Regions from separate parts of the Homo sapiens genome. Here region 1 is linked to region 2. The links are contacts of gene promoters, found by promoter capture Hi-C in human tissues and cell types (Jung and others, 2019). All regions are on one chromosome and are shown on one strand. Each heading gives the region's core, a stretch centred on a gene start or on the middle of the fragment in contact. The rest is flanking DNA. Distances are from core to core; before and after follow the strand shown. Region 1 overlaps KARS1 (lysyl-tRNA synthetase 1). Region 2 holds the start of CHST6 (carbohydrate sulfotransferase 6).

Region 1 (6,032 bases), core at 893-3,392, 140 kb before region 2:
ACCTGTAATCCTAGCACTTTGGGAGGCCAAGGTGGGCAGATCACTTGAGGAAAGGAGTTTGAGACCAGTCTGGCCAACGTGGTGAAACCTCGTCTCACTAAAAATACATAAATTAGTTGACTGTGGTGGTACACACCTGTAATCCCAGCTACTCAGGAGGCTGAGGCACGAGAATCTCTTGAAACCCGGGAGGCAGAGATTGCAGTAAGCTGAGATTGTGACTGCACTCCAGCCTGGGCCACAGAGCAAAACTCTGTCTCATAAAAAAAAAAAAAAAAAAAAAAAAAAAAAAAAAAGACCTGGCACTGTTGGAACTTCACCTTCTAGGGGGATACTAAACAACTAAGATTCAGTCACTGTCCTCAAGGAGCTCCCTAACCTAATTAGCTCAAGAAAAGCCTATTCTAATTTTCTAGAAAACCTTTTCTCCTATTCAAAACTAATGCATAGGATTTTCTTTGTCTTGGTACATCTTGGTTTTAGTTGGGACCTAATGCCAAGGACCTGAGACTGGCAAGCAGAGACTGAGAGTGATTTTTCACATCTTTGTTCTAAGCTTATTTTTCCCTTTGTGTCTTTCACATAAAGAGTTTAGTGACAAGCTACTTGAGCTGAGCTGTGGGTGTGGAATTGAGGGGTATAGAACTGAGCAAGAGCGTTTCTCCTGGGCGATTCATGTTTTTGATAAGTTGCTAGGGGCAGAACATAGAGGACTCTTCAGGCAGCTAACACATTGAACGCTTTCATCTTTCCAACAGTGAGCTGAAGAGACGCCTGAAAGCTGAGAAGAAAGTAGCAGAGAAGGAGGCCAAACAGAAAGAGCTCAGTGAGAAACAGCTAAGCCAAGCCACTGCTGCTGCCACCAACCACACCACTGATAATGGTGTGGGTCCTGAGGAAGAGAGCGTGGACCCAAATGTGAGTTCCCTGGGCCACCAGCATGGTTGGGCACAGGAAAGCTTCTGATGAGGCTTCTGGCAGATTCTTTGGGACTGGACAGTAGGAGGGACCAGTACGCCTGAGGTCACTGCCAGGGATAAGGGAGGGTCTCCCACTGCATCTGGTTAAAGGCACAGACCCTGAGTGTTTTTTATGTCAACCCCCAAAAGGCATTTGAGAGAGTCCAGCATTCAAGTGAATTAACCTTCCTTGGAATTAGCTTGACCTTGAGGCCCCAGGGAAAGTGTCTCTCTAAAGATTGCCTGAGGTTTACTTTAGACCAGGGGCTGGCCAACTACAGTCCACCAGCCAAACCCACTCTCCATGCCCCCACTTTATCCTTCCCTCCCTGGTTTTTTGTTTTTGTTTTTGTTTTTTTGAGGCAAAGTCTCATTCTGTCACCCAGGCTGGAGTGCAGTGGTGTGATCTCACTGCAACCTCCGCCTCCCCGGTTCAAGTGATTCTCCTTCCTCAGCCTCCCAAGTAACTGGTATTAGAGGCGCACACCACTACACCCTGTTAATGTTGGCCAGGCTGGTCTTGAACTCCTGGCCTCAAGTGATCCACCCGCCTCGGGCTCCCAGAGTACTAGGATTACAGGCATGAGCCACCACACCTTGCCCCTCCTTGGTTTTACTAGTAAAATTGTATTGGAACACAGCTGTGCTCATTTGTTTACGTATTTCTGAGGCTGCTTTCCCCCTGAAACAGCAGAGTTGAGAAGTTGCATCAGAAAAGCTTTGTGAGAAAGGCTGCTGTAGAGTATTCCTTGTTTACATTCTCCAGGCCCCATGCCTTGGGGAAAAGTCTGATGTGTCGCCAGAGGTAGGAGAGTAGTTAAGAACATAAGCAGTTAAGAACGTAAGTGACTCGACTCACCATGCAAATGTGGTCTACAAAAGTGACAACAAGGCCACCTGTACCAATTAAAAATTAAACTTTTATGATTTTAGGCAGAACTCAGGTTTTTCTTTTTGTTGACTCTTGCATTTTGAAATGCTGGCCTCTGGCCGCCCTGCATATTTTAAGTGCAAATCTCACTCCATATTCAATCCTGTAATGCAGAGGTCTTGGTTAAAGAAAACAATGTATTGGGGTCACTCGGGGGCAGAATACTGCCCTCTGCTAGGTGGGCCCCACTGGTCTGACCAGGTTCAACTTCTGAAGGGCTTTTTTTTTTTTTTTTTTAACAGCAATACTACAAAATCCGCAGTCAAGCAATTCATCAGCTGAAGGTCAATGGGGAAGACCCATACCCACACAAGTTCCATGTAGACATCTCACTCACTGACTTCATCCAAAAATATAGTCACCTGCAGCCTGGGGATCACCTGACTGACATCACCTTAAAGGTGGCAGGTAGGAACTCTCCCTGGCAAATCACTGAACTCCCACAGCAGGTAGGCCTGCGGCTTCAGTAGCACAAGGGAAGGTCTGGGTTGGTCTTGTTCTCAAGTAGCCTGTGTCTGAAGCTACTTTACTAAGGACAGTGCCATTATATCTATACAGAAAGAAGCAGAGCAGCCCTGAGACATGGAATCATATTCCAGATGAGGTAGTGCTACAAAGAGAGGGGCTTTCTCTATAAGGATTCCCTTCATCAGCAAGAATCAGCGGTAGAAGTCTCAGGCTTCTAAGAATTCCAGTCTTTGGCCTAAGAATGCTTTGCACTGAGACAGTATTTCTAGAACATTGCTCTTTTGGAGTTGTAGTATCTTGGGTGAGATCTTCTTTTCCTAAATTTAAAAAACAAAAAAAAAAAATCACATCTTTTCCTTGCCCTCTCCCACCAAATAGTAAAACTATCAGTTGTAGAAAATTTAGAATAGTCAAAGAAGCACAGAGAGAAGGTTTTGATTACGCATAATCCTACCACCCAGAGAGAATTTCTGGCAGGACCTAAATGCCCAAAAGATTTCTTCTTTAAAGTGCAGTGATTTTACTAAAATCTTTTTTTTTTTTTTTTTTTTTGAGATATAGTCTCACTCTGTCTCCCAGGCTGGAATGCAGTGGTGCCATCTCAGCTTACTGCAACCTCTGCCCCCCAGGTTCAAGCAATTCTCTTGCCTCAGCCTCCCGAGTACCTGGGATTACAGGCACCTGCCACCACGCCCGGCTAAGTTTTGTATTTTTAGTAGAGATGGGGCTTCGCCATATTGACCAGGCTGGTCTCGAACTCCTGACCTCAGGTGATCCACCTGCCTCGGCTTCCCAAAGTGCTGGGATTACAGGCGTGAGCCGCCACACCCTGCCACTAAAATATTTATTGATGTTAGTTATTCTAGTTCAGTATTCTCAGATACACAGTGTGCTCTGAGATCTTTTCACATCTGTGTATTCAGATTTTTTTTTATTTTTTTATTTTTATTTTTTTGAGGCGAAGTCTTGCTCTTGTCCCCCAGGCTGTAGTGCAATGGCGCAATCTCGGCTCACTGCAACCTCCGCCTTCCGGGTTCAAGCGATTCTCCTGCCTCAGCCTCCCCAGTAGCTGGGATTACAGGCGCCTGCCACCACGCCCAGCTAATTTTTGTATCTTTAGTAGAGACGGAGTTTCACCATGTTGGCCAGGCTGGTCTTGAACTCCTGACCTCAGGTGATCCACCTGCCACGGCCTTCCAAAGTGCTGGGATTACAGGCATGAGCCGCTGCTCCCAGCAGATCTTTTTTATTTTAATTGTTTGTTTTTATTCTGTTTCTTGCTTTACATTTCCTTTGGGACTTTTATCTGCATACTGGATCATCTTGATTCTTTTCGATAATTGTCACTTTATCTCAAATCCTTTTTATCTTTCTTTATACTTTGATTTTTAAATTTTATCCTCCTTTTCACTTTCTGTTTCTCTTAAGGCATTATTTGTTGTATTTAGTCACTATTATTTCCTTATAGCTTAGTCTGCATTTTCTGAAAGATTTTTTACTTTATTTCTAATTCTTTCATGTGTTATCACCTCATTTCTTAGTTTTTCTAGTTCTAATTTGTGTTCTTTCATGTTTTGCGTCTTTTTCTTCATGTCTTTCAGCTCATTTTTGAATAGTAAGTTAGAATTTTTTGCTTTTCACGGCACGTACTCACTCATAAGTGAGAGTTGAACAATAAGAACACATGGACACAGGGAGGGGAACATCACACACTGGGGCCTGTCAAGGGGCGGGGGGACCGGGGAGGGACAGGGTTAGGACAAATACCTAATGCATGCAGAGCTTAAAACCTAGATGACAGGTTGATAGGTACAGCAAACCACCATGGCACATGTATACCTATATGACAAATCTGCGTGTTCTGCACATGTGTCCCAGAACTTAAAGTAAAATAAAAAAAAAAAAAGGAACTTTTTGTTTTTCTAAGCATGTCTGTCTTGAGTGCTTTTATTTTGTCTAGAGGGGTGTTATTCTCCTTCTATCTCTCCATTTTTAGTTTTTTAAGTAACTTTATATGGTATGTGAGCCCAGTGCTTTTATGTTGCTTACATTTACATGAAATCAGTTTTCCTGAATGTTCAAAGGAAGCACGGTTTCGTTTTTCCAGTGAGCTCCCTCTTGTTTTTGTGGCATGTTCAGAAATACTGCAGCTTGTTTTTTGAGATTTCCTGGTTCTCTTCTTCTTCCTCACTTTTTTTGGGTCTTCTTTTTTTTTTTTTTTTTGGTCTCTTTTTTCCTTGTCCTGTTAGTTTTTACGGTCTTGTCCTAGAAGGGAGCCTGGCTGTTGAGAGGGTTTCTGTGGGCTCTACTCCTCATTCCCTTTAGATTTTTTTTTTTTTTTTTTGAGACTGAGTTTTGCTCTTATTGCCCAGGCTGGAGTGCAATGCCGTGATCTCAGCTCACTGCAACCTCCGCCTCCCAGGTTCAAGCGATTCTCCTGCCTCAGCCTCCCAAGTAGCTGGGATTACAGGCATGCGCCACCACGCCTGGCTAATTCTGTATTTTTTTTTAGTAGAGACAGGGTTTCTCCATGTTGGTCAGGCTGGTCTTGAACTCCCAGCCTTACGTGATCTGCCTGCCTCGGCCTCCCAAAGTCCTGGGATTACAAGCGTGAGCCACAGCACCTGGCCTCCTTTAGATCTTCTTAATGCAACCCTCACCTGTATGGAAACGGACACATCCCCTCCCTGTTTCAGCTGCTCTCCCCCAGTGAGCCTGGAGGAAAAGGTTCACATTTTCCAGAGGATACCTTTGGCCATTTGGGGGCTTTCCAGTTCTCAGATCCCTCCCATACCCCATTTCTCCCCACTGCTTTTTCCCCGTATAGAGGTCTTATGGCTCTTGGTGGTTTGCCTCCTTGCTTATATTTGGGGGTCCTTGGCAACGTCTTCCCACAGCATTTTGTTGTAAATTTTGTCCATGGATTTTTCGCTTCGCCTCTCTAGCTGTGCTTTCTATTTTTATGTGAGGATTCAGGGAAATCCAAAAACTATGCTGCTACCAGCACCACCATCTTCTAGGCATCCAGTGACTTAATCTTGAAAGCTAGATCCTGAAAGCATGTCTTTAACTGGTTTGAATGGACATTGTTGGTTTGAGGGAAAAGATGGGGATTAAACCTCAAGCTAAAATCAGATTGTACTGCTTTGCATTGTGCCCTGACCAAAAAAAAAAAAAAAATGCAGGCCGGGTGTGGGGGCTCACACCTGTAATCCCAGCACTTTGGGAGGCTGAGGTGGGTGGATCACTTCAGCCCAGGAGTTCAAGACCAGCCTGGGCAACATGGTGAAACCCCCTCTCTACTTTAAAAAAAAAAAGAAAAATTAGCCGAGTGTGGTGGTGTGCACCTGTAATCCCAGCTACTCAGGAGGCTGAAACAGGAGAGTCACTTGAACCTGGGAGGCGGAGGTTGCATTGAGCTGAGATCGTGCCACTGCACTCCAGCCTGGGCAACAGAGCAAGACTCTGTCCCAAAAAAAACAAAAAAAAAAATGCAGAGGGAGTTTTTTTTTGACACTGATACCATAAAATGACTTCTGGTTCTGTCAGTCAGTATTTTTGCTCTTCTTTTTCTAGGTAGGATCCATGCCAAAAGAGCTTCTGGGGGAAAGCTCATCTTCTATGATCTTCGAGGAGAGGGGGTGAAGTTGCAAGTCATGGCCAATTCCAGGTAT
Region 2 (6,897 bases), core at 2,146-4,645:
AAGCCCAGCGGCTGGCGTTTCCCTTGACTAAGGAAAAGGGTGCCCATCAGAGTGGGGCGGGCAGCTTTGGGAAGGACACAAGAAGCAGTGAGGGTGTAAAGAGGATGCTGGCCTGGGCAGGCCAGTCCAGCCTGGCCACTAGCAGAATACCAAGCAGTCCAGTGGATTATCCTCGTGGCTAAGCAAGTGTCTGCAGGAGCAGAGATGGCTGGAAGGGGCCTCTGCACACGGAAGATGGCTTGTTCAGCCGATTCACCTCCTGAGGATGCGTGCAGTCTCCTCCAAGAACACATGGAGCTGCTTCCTGATCCCAAGCAGGTCGTTGCCCCTGGAAGGACATGGCTCCGGTGATCCATGCTTCATGCCCACCCAGAAACACACCCCTCAGTGTGTGCCTCAGTTTACCTTGGAGATCATTTTTCATCTCCAGCATCCGTTTCCTTTAGGCTGACTAAAAACAGTTTTGGAAACAAAGCTATTTTGAAGTATTCAAGCAGAGGAATTCTCTAACACTGTCCCCCTTGTCTTTTTTTAATATTCTGGCTATTTTAGATGCCTAAATTTTTTTCTTGAGATTTATTTATTTTTATAGATGGGGTTTTCACTATGTTGCCCAGGCTGGTCTTGAACTCCCAACCTCAGGAAATCCTCCTGTCTCAGCCCCACAAAGTGCCAGGAATATAGGCATGGGCCAGTGTGCCCCGTCTCTTGAGACTGAAATGAAAAATTGCTTGTGGTTTAAATCCCCAGAATTTAATGAAACATGGGAAGATGGCTAAAGATACGTATAAACTTTGGTTTGCATTTTATTAAATTATTTGAATGCAAAACTTGTATAAAGAATCCATTATGTTCTGTAGCTTTCTAATTAAAATGTTCAACATGGAAGGTTGTATTAGCTATTTTTGAAGCAAGGCTTTGGAGGGAGGAAGAATAGGGAGGGCTGAAGTTGAGCACACTTCTCCGAGTTACTCACCAGTAGCCTTGCTTTGCCACGGCTCTGCCCAAAGACCTTGGAGCTTTTGTTAGCTCTTTGGCAAAAGTTTCCTGGTCCAACCCCAAGTATATTAGTTTTTAGTGGAATCCACATGGCATATGGGAGCTGCGGGTTGGAAAATTACAACTGTGTCTGGTGAATATCAAATTATTTACGGATCATTTATTGGTAGTTTCTGAAACTGAACCACACAGCATAGTTGCAGGAGGAAGAAAGGTAAGAAATACACAGGATTTTATCAACTGAGCTGAAGCCATAGATAAGTCATATTTGAGATAATTATTGAATTTGTTTTGTGGGAGAGAAATCTCTAATTCTTCCAAATGATTAGTCCAGTTTCTGCCAAAGCAGGTGAGGTGTCTAATGCCCCACTGAGTGCCCATCTTGAAGCTTATTAAAGCAATTCTCTCTCTTTGCGTCCCTCTTACCTTATCCTCCACATCCTTGCCCCCTCTCCTTATTCATGCTTTGTAAAGAGGTTTTGGAGCTTTCTGGCCAGATAACTTCTAAATACTGATTAAGGAAATGTAAATTACATGATCCTAAGGAAAATAATGATTGCCGGCCAATCCCCTACCCAGAGTTATGGTTGGCCTTCTGGCACACATCTTTCTATCCCATACACTATTTCTAACTTTTTAAAAATCATGAACAGGCCGGGCACGGTGGCTCATGCCTGTAATCCGAGCACTTTGGGAGACAGAGGCGGGCAGATCACATCTGAGCTCAGGAGTTCGAGACCAGCCTGGACAACATGGTGAAACCCTGTCTCTACTAAAAGTACAAAAATTAGCCTGGCGTGGTGGTGGGCACCTGTAATCCCAGCTATTCAGGAGGCTGAGGCAAGAGAATCACTTGAACTCGAGAGGCGGAGGTTGCAGTGAGCCTAGATCCTGCCATTGCACTCCAGCCTGGGCTACAAAAGTGAGACTCCATCTGAAAAAAAAATCAGTATCAAAATCATGAACAACACTTATATGAACCCTGTACATAAATCCTTGTTTCTGGTTTATTTCCTTAAGATAGCTCCTAGAAAGGAATTACCAATCCGAAAAGCTTACGACCATTGTCAAGAATCTTAATTCATCTTGCCAAACCACAACCAGGAAGGACTGCTTATTTCTTCTCCCAGCAGCAGGGAGTTCTTGATTAAGATCCCATCACTAATTTGACAAGACCTAGAAATGCTTCATCCTTTTCAGGTGCCTGGGCTCTGCCCTGTTATTTGTAAAGGGGATTTTTTTTTTTTTTTTTTTTGAAACAGTTTCGCTCTGTCGCCCAGGCTGGAGTGCAGTGGTGCAATCTCAGCTCACTGCAACCTCCGCTTCCTGGGCTCAAGCAGTTCTCCTGCCTTAGCCTCCTGAGTAGCTAGGATTACAGGTGCCTGCCACCACGCCCGGCTAATTTTTGTATTTTTAGTAGAGACGGGGTTTCACCCTGTTGGCCAGGCTGGTCTCGAACTCCTGACCTCGTGATCCACCCACTACGGCCCCCCAAAGTGCTGGGATTACAGGCGTGAGACACCGCGCCTGGCCGGATTTTTTTTTTTTTTTTTTGCGAGGGAGTCTCGCTTTGTCGCCCAGGCTGGAGTGCAGTGGTGCGATCTCGGCTCACTGCAAGCTCCGCCTCCCGGGTTCACGCCATTCTCCTGCCTCAGCCTCCCGAGTAGCTGGGACTACAGGTGCCCGCCACCAGGCCTGGCTAATTTTTTTGTATTTTTAGTAGAGACGGGGTTTCACTGTGTTAGCCAGGATGATTTCGATCTCCTGACCTCGTGATCCGCCCGCCTCGGCCTCCCAAAGTGCTGGGATTACAGGCGTGAGCCACCGCGCCCAGCCCTGGCCGGAAATATCTTATTTATTGAAACGTATCATGTCTTTATCTGGACCTGCTATGAACCTGCGCCTCTGGGCCTAGGCTAGGGCAGGGAATGCGCAGGAGGAGGGGAAAAGCTGCGGACCCAGCTCCTAAGGCCACCTGGTCTCTCCGCTCTTCCCAGTTGGGACACTGCACCGGGTCCATGTGTCATCCAGGTGCCGTGGCCTTGGGAAGGGTTTGGATTCCAAGTCACCTCGCCGCAAGGATGCCCCCGAGAGTGAGGAGGGTCAAGATTAAGATTCGACTTCCTTCACTAGGGCCTTTGTCCTCCCAGGAGCCCCCCTTCTCTGGGGATTTGGGGTGGGGTGGGGTACAACGTTCCTCTGTAGTCAGATGAGAGGTGACTCTGCCAGCGCCCTTTGACATTCTGGGCTAAAAGTTGAGCCTCTCAGAGCCCCAGCCCACCTGGGCCCTCCTGCCCCGCCCTCGGCCGGCGCCCCTCCCCCGAGGCGTGGCCCCTCGGTCGGGGGTGGGCCAACCGGCTCCTTCCTTCCCCCACGGCGCTAGCTCCCGCTGGCCACCTCGGGACCGCAGCCACGTCTGAAAGCGCCTCATTGTGTGCGCTCGGGCGGGCTGCACCGGGCAGCGCCGAGGGTTGCCGGCCGGCGCGCGGGGAGTAGAGGGCGCGGGCCGCAGTGCCGGGTTCCAGAGGGAGCTCTGCGCCGGGTCCTTCCCTGTGGTAGCCCCAGGACACCCCCAGCCTCAACATCCCATTCTGGGACTCCTGCCCTGTTCCCACATTCGTTCTACCTCGAGTCTCCAGGAGCTTCCAGTGGCTTGGTCACCGCCAACTCTCGTCCATGCCTCTTAGAGCCCCTTTCCCGGCCTCACCGGGTGTCGCTTAATAGTCTTGGGACCTTAAGGAGCAAGTCAGCCCCTGCGGACCCTCCCAGTGAAGAGAAAGAGCTGGCTGTGCGGTGGAATTTGGAAGAGACGACGTTTGGGAGCCTTTGCTGAGTCCAGGGAGAGAGGCGTCCCCCACCGTGCCGCTGCAGCTCGGGCAGAGCCGCCAAGCTTTGGGGTACGTTGGTTCTTCATTCTCCGCGGGGGATGTCCCCACACTCGGGTCGGCTGGGGGCCGGGCTGGTGGCACAGCTGGGGACGCTCCTCTGTCCTGCACCGGGGACCTGGGGTGGCGGGAAGAGCTGGGAGTGGCTTTTCCATCAGCAACGTGGAAAGGGCATCGCCGCTGTTGGCGCCGGTTTGGAAGTGTCTTGCTGGGGCTTCGGCTGCGCAGGAGAATCCTCACTGCGAGGGGAGAACCCCTTTTGTCTCGATACTTGAGTTTCAAAGGACATGACTTTCAAAAGCTCTCCAAGGGCTTTTTCCATAGAATTATTGAGAGACGGTAGCTTGGCGGGTTGATTTGGAACCAGACCCAGGGGAATTGGAGTCCTGCGTCACTGCTTCTGACGGCTTCATCTTGGGCTTCAGGACAGGCCCTCTGGGCCTCAGGACAGGTGCCTAGCAAATGTTGACTTTCCTTTCTCCTCCCTTTTTCACAGAGGCAAGGCAGTCAAGTTTCCCATTTTTGAGGATGGGAAAACTGAGGCCTGAAGAGCAGAAAGGAGTTGGCTGACTTAAACCCACAAGCGAGTAGGCCAAGTACCAGGGCCTCTGAGGGTGCTATGCTGCTCCGGGAGCTGGGGCTGGGCTCCTCTCCAGCCTGAGAGGCCGGAACTTTTCTGGCTTTGTTCTACAAACAGAGTCAACTGGAGTATAGAGAGCCAGAGAGTGACTTGCTCTAAGTCACACCCCTCACTGGTAGTAGAGACAGGATTTGAACCCAATCCGGCTTCAGAAGCCAAGCTTCTAAGGCCAGTCGCAGTGGTTCACGCCTGTAATCCCAGCACTTTGGGAGGCCGAGGCAGGTGGATCACCTGAGGTCAGGAGTTCAAGACCAGCCTGGCCAACATGGTGAAACCCCATCTCTACTAAAAATACAAAAATAAGCTGGGCATGGTGGTGAGTGCCTGTAATCCCAGCTACTTGGGAGGCTGAGGCAGAAGAATCACTTGAACCCAGGAGGCGGAGGTTGCAGTGAGCTGAGATTGCGGTACTTCACTCCAGTCTGGACAACAGCGAGACTCCATCTCAGAAAAAACACAAGCCAGGCCTCTAGCCATGACTTTCCAGCGTCTTCTGTTTTGTTTGCCCTTGTGGGGACCCTGTCTGTGCCTGCCACATTCTGTTGCTGGGGCACTGGGGCACCTGAATCTGGTAGAGCCATTGTCCTTGGGTTTTCCTCATTCAAAGACTTTCCCTTGGATTCATAGAATATAAGTGTGGCCCAGGAAGGAAGATTGCTAAGCAAATACTCATAAGTGCACTATGCGCCAGACTTTGTTCTGCTTTACAAATATCCACTCACTCACTCTTTCAATCAAGCCCATGAGTTGGGTTATATTGTTTCCCCCACTTTACAGATTTTTTTTTTTTTTTTTGATACGGAGTCTCGCTCTGTCACCGAGGCTGGAGTGCAGTGAAAGTGACATAATCTCGGCTCACTGCAACCTCTCCGCATCCCAGGTTCAAGCGATTCTCCTGCCTCAAATTCCTGAGTAGCTGGGATTACAGGCACCCGCCACCACGCCCGGCTAATTTTTGTATTTTTAGTAAAGATGGGGTTTCACTATGTTGGTCAGGCTGGTCTCAAACTCCTGACCTCGTGATCCGCCCTCCTCAGCCTCGCAAAGTGCTGGGATTACAGGTGTGAGCCACCGCACCTGACCTTCCAGATTTTTTTTTAACCAAGCAGGCACAGAAGGAAGTAACTTGCACAAGATCGCTCAGTAAATGGTCAAGTGGGATTCACACTCTTAACCTCAGTGCTCTATACCTACTGTCTTTAATGAGACAGACACCATTCTGCTTCTAGTGTCTTGGGCGGGGAAATGGGTCCAGAAATACATGAACAAGATTGTTCTGGGTAGTGATAATAGTATTAATAATAATTTCTCACTATCACCTATTAGTCAATATTGAAATATATCTGATTACCTCTAGGGTATCTCCTGGCAGATGTTTTTTTCAAATCAGAATCCACACAAGGTCCACATGTTGCATTTGACTATGTGTTTTTTGGTTTTGGTTTTTGTTTTTGTTTTTGTTTGAGATGGAGTCTCTCTCTGTCGCCCAGACTGGAGTGCAGTGGCGTGATCTCAGCTCACTGCAGCTTCGGACTCCTGGCTCCAGTGATTCTCCTGCCTCAGCCTCCTGGGTAGCTAGGATTACAAGCACGTGCCACCACACCTGGCTACTTTTTGTGTATTTAGTAAAGACAGGGTTTCACCATGTTTGGCCAGGCTGGTCTCCAACTCCTGACCTAAGGTGATCTGCCTGTCTTGGCCTCCCAGAGTGCTGGGATTACAGGCGTGAGCCACCGCGCCCGGCCCTGAGTTATTTTCCTATAAAATAGTCTCTTCCTTTTTCTGTCATAGATTTGGAAGTATGATTTACTTTTAAAAAATAAGGTAATTAAAATAAATGGTTAATAAACCAGGGAACATTCCAGATTATCTCTGTAATGAGAGGGCTCTGTCAATACTTAGGGAAACAGGCAAATGTGCTAAAAGCACAGTCCCACTCCGTACCCTGTGTGTGTTGCTGCACAGAAGAAGTGGGGAACCCTCAGACTTTATGGCCTCCAGCTGTAAGGTACTACAATTTAGACCAAGGCAGGTGCTGTTTGAAGTGCCCTGTGAGAATCCCTAAAGCTCCCAGCCAAGGAAAAGGGTTTGTGTGTTGCTATCTGCTTATCTGCTCTGAAATGCCCCAGGGCAGTGGCTCTGAGCCAGGGAGGCTTGAGGCTCCTTTCCCAGGCTAATTAGAATTCATTTCCCAGTAGATTTTGAAGGCAGATCTGTTTTCTCCATCAGCATCTGGGCCTTGCAGTCCCAGCCCCCTGCCTCTGGGGGATGCCATGCAGCTGCATCACCAGGACTGGCAGAGTTGGCAGATGTGGCCAGGGCTTGGGGGCCAGGCACAGCTTCAGCCACAGCCTGGCCCAGCCCACAGTCCTG

Evidence for each region. The method cuts DNA at HindIII sites, captures the fragments that hold promoters and counts their contacts. A contact is called where the count stands out against the background at its distance.
Region 1: a fragment that was not itself captured here is called in contact with the fragment with the promoter of CHST6 in region 2 in 1 of the 25 tissues and cell types used here (H1 embryonic stem cells).

Annotation. Positions count from the first base shown.
Region 1 is chr16:75,636,450-75,642,481 of GRCh38, reverse strand. KARS1 (lysyl-tRNA synthetase 1) reads left to right here. Exons shown (of 14, transcript NM_005548.3): 2 at 759-918; 3 at 2,133-2,298; 4 at 5,935-6,028. Among named protein-coding and RNA genes, the nearest start is that of KARS1, 8.2 kb to the left of the region's middle. The HindIII fragment of the contact is 6,726 bases long and covers 1-5,505 here.
Region 2 is chr16:75,491,939-75,498,835 of GRCh38, reverse strand. CHST6 (carbohydrate sulfotransferase 6) reads left to right here and starts at 3,395. Exons shown (of 3, transcript NM_021615.5): 1 at 3,395-3,896. RefSeq lists a silencer at 3,192-3,521 and an enhancer at 3,822-4,001. The HindIII fragment of the contact is 2,567 bases long and covers 1,721-4,287 here.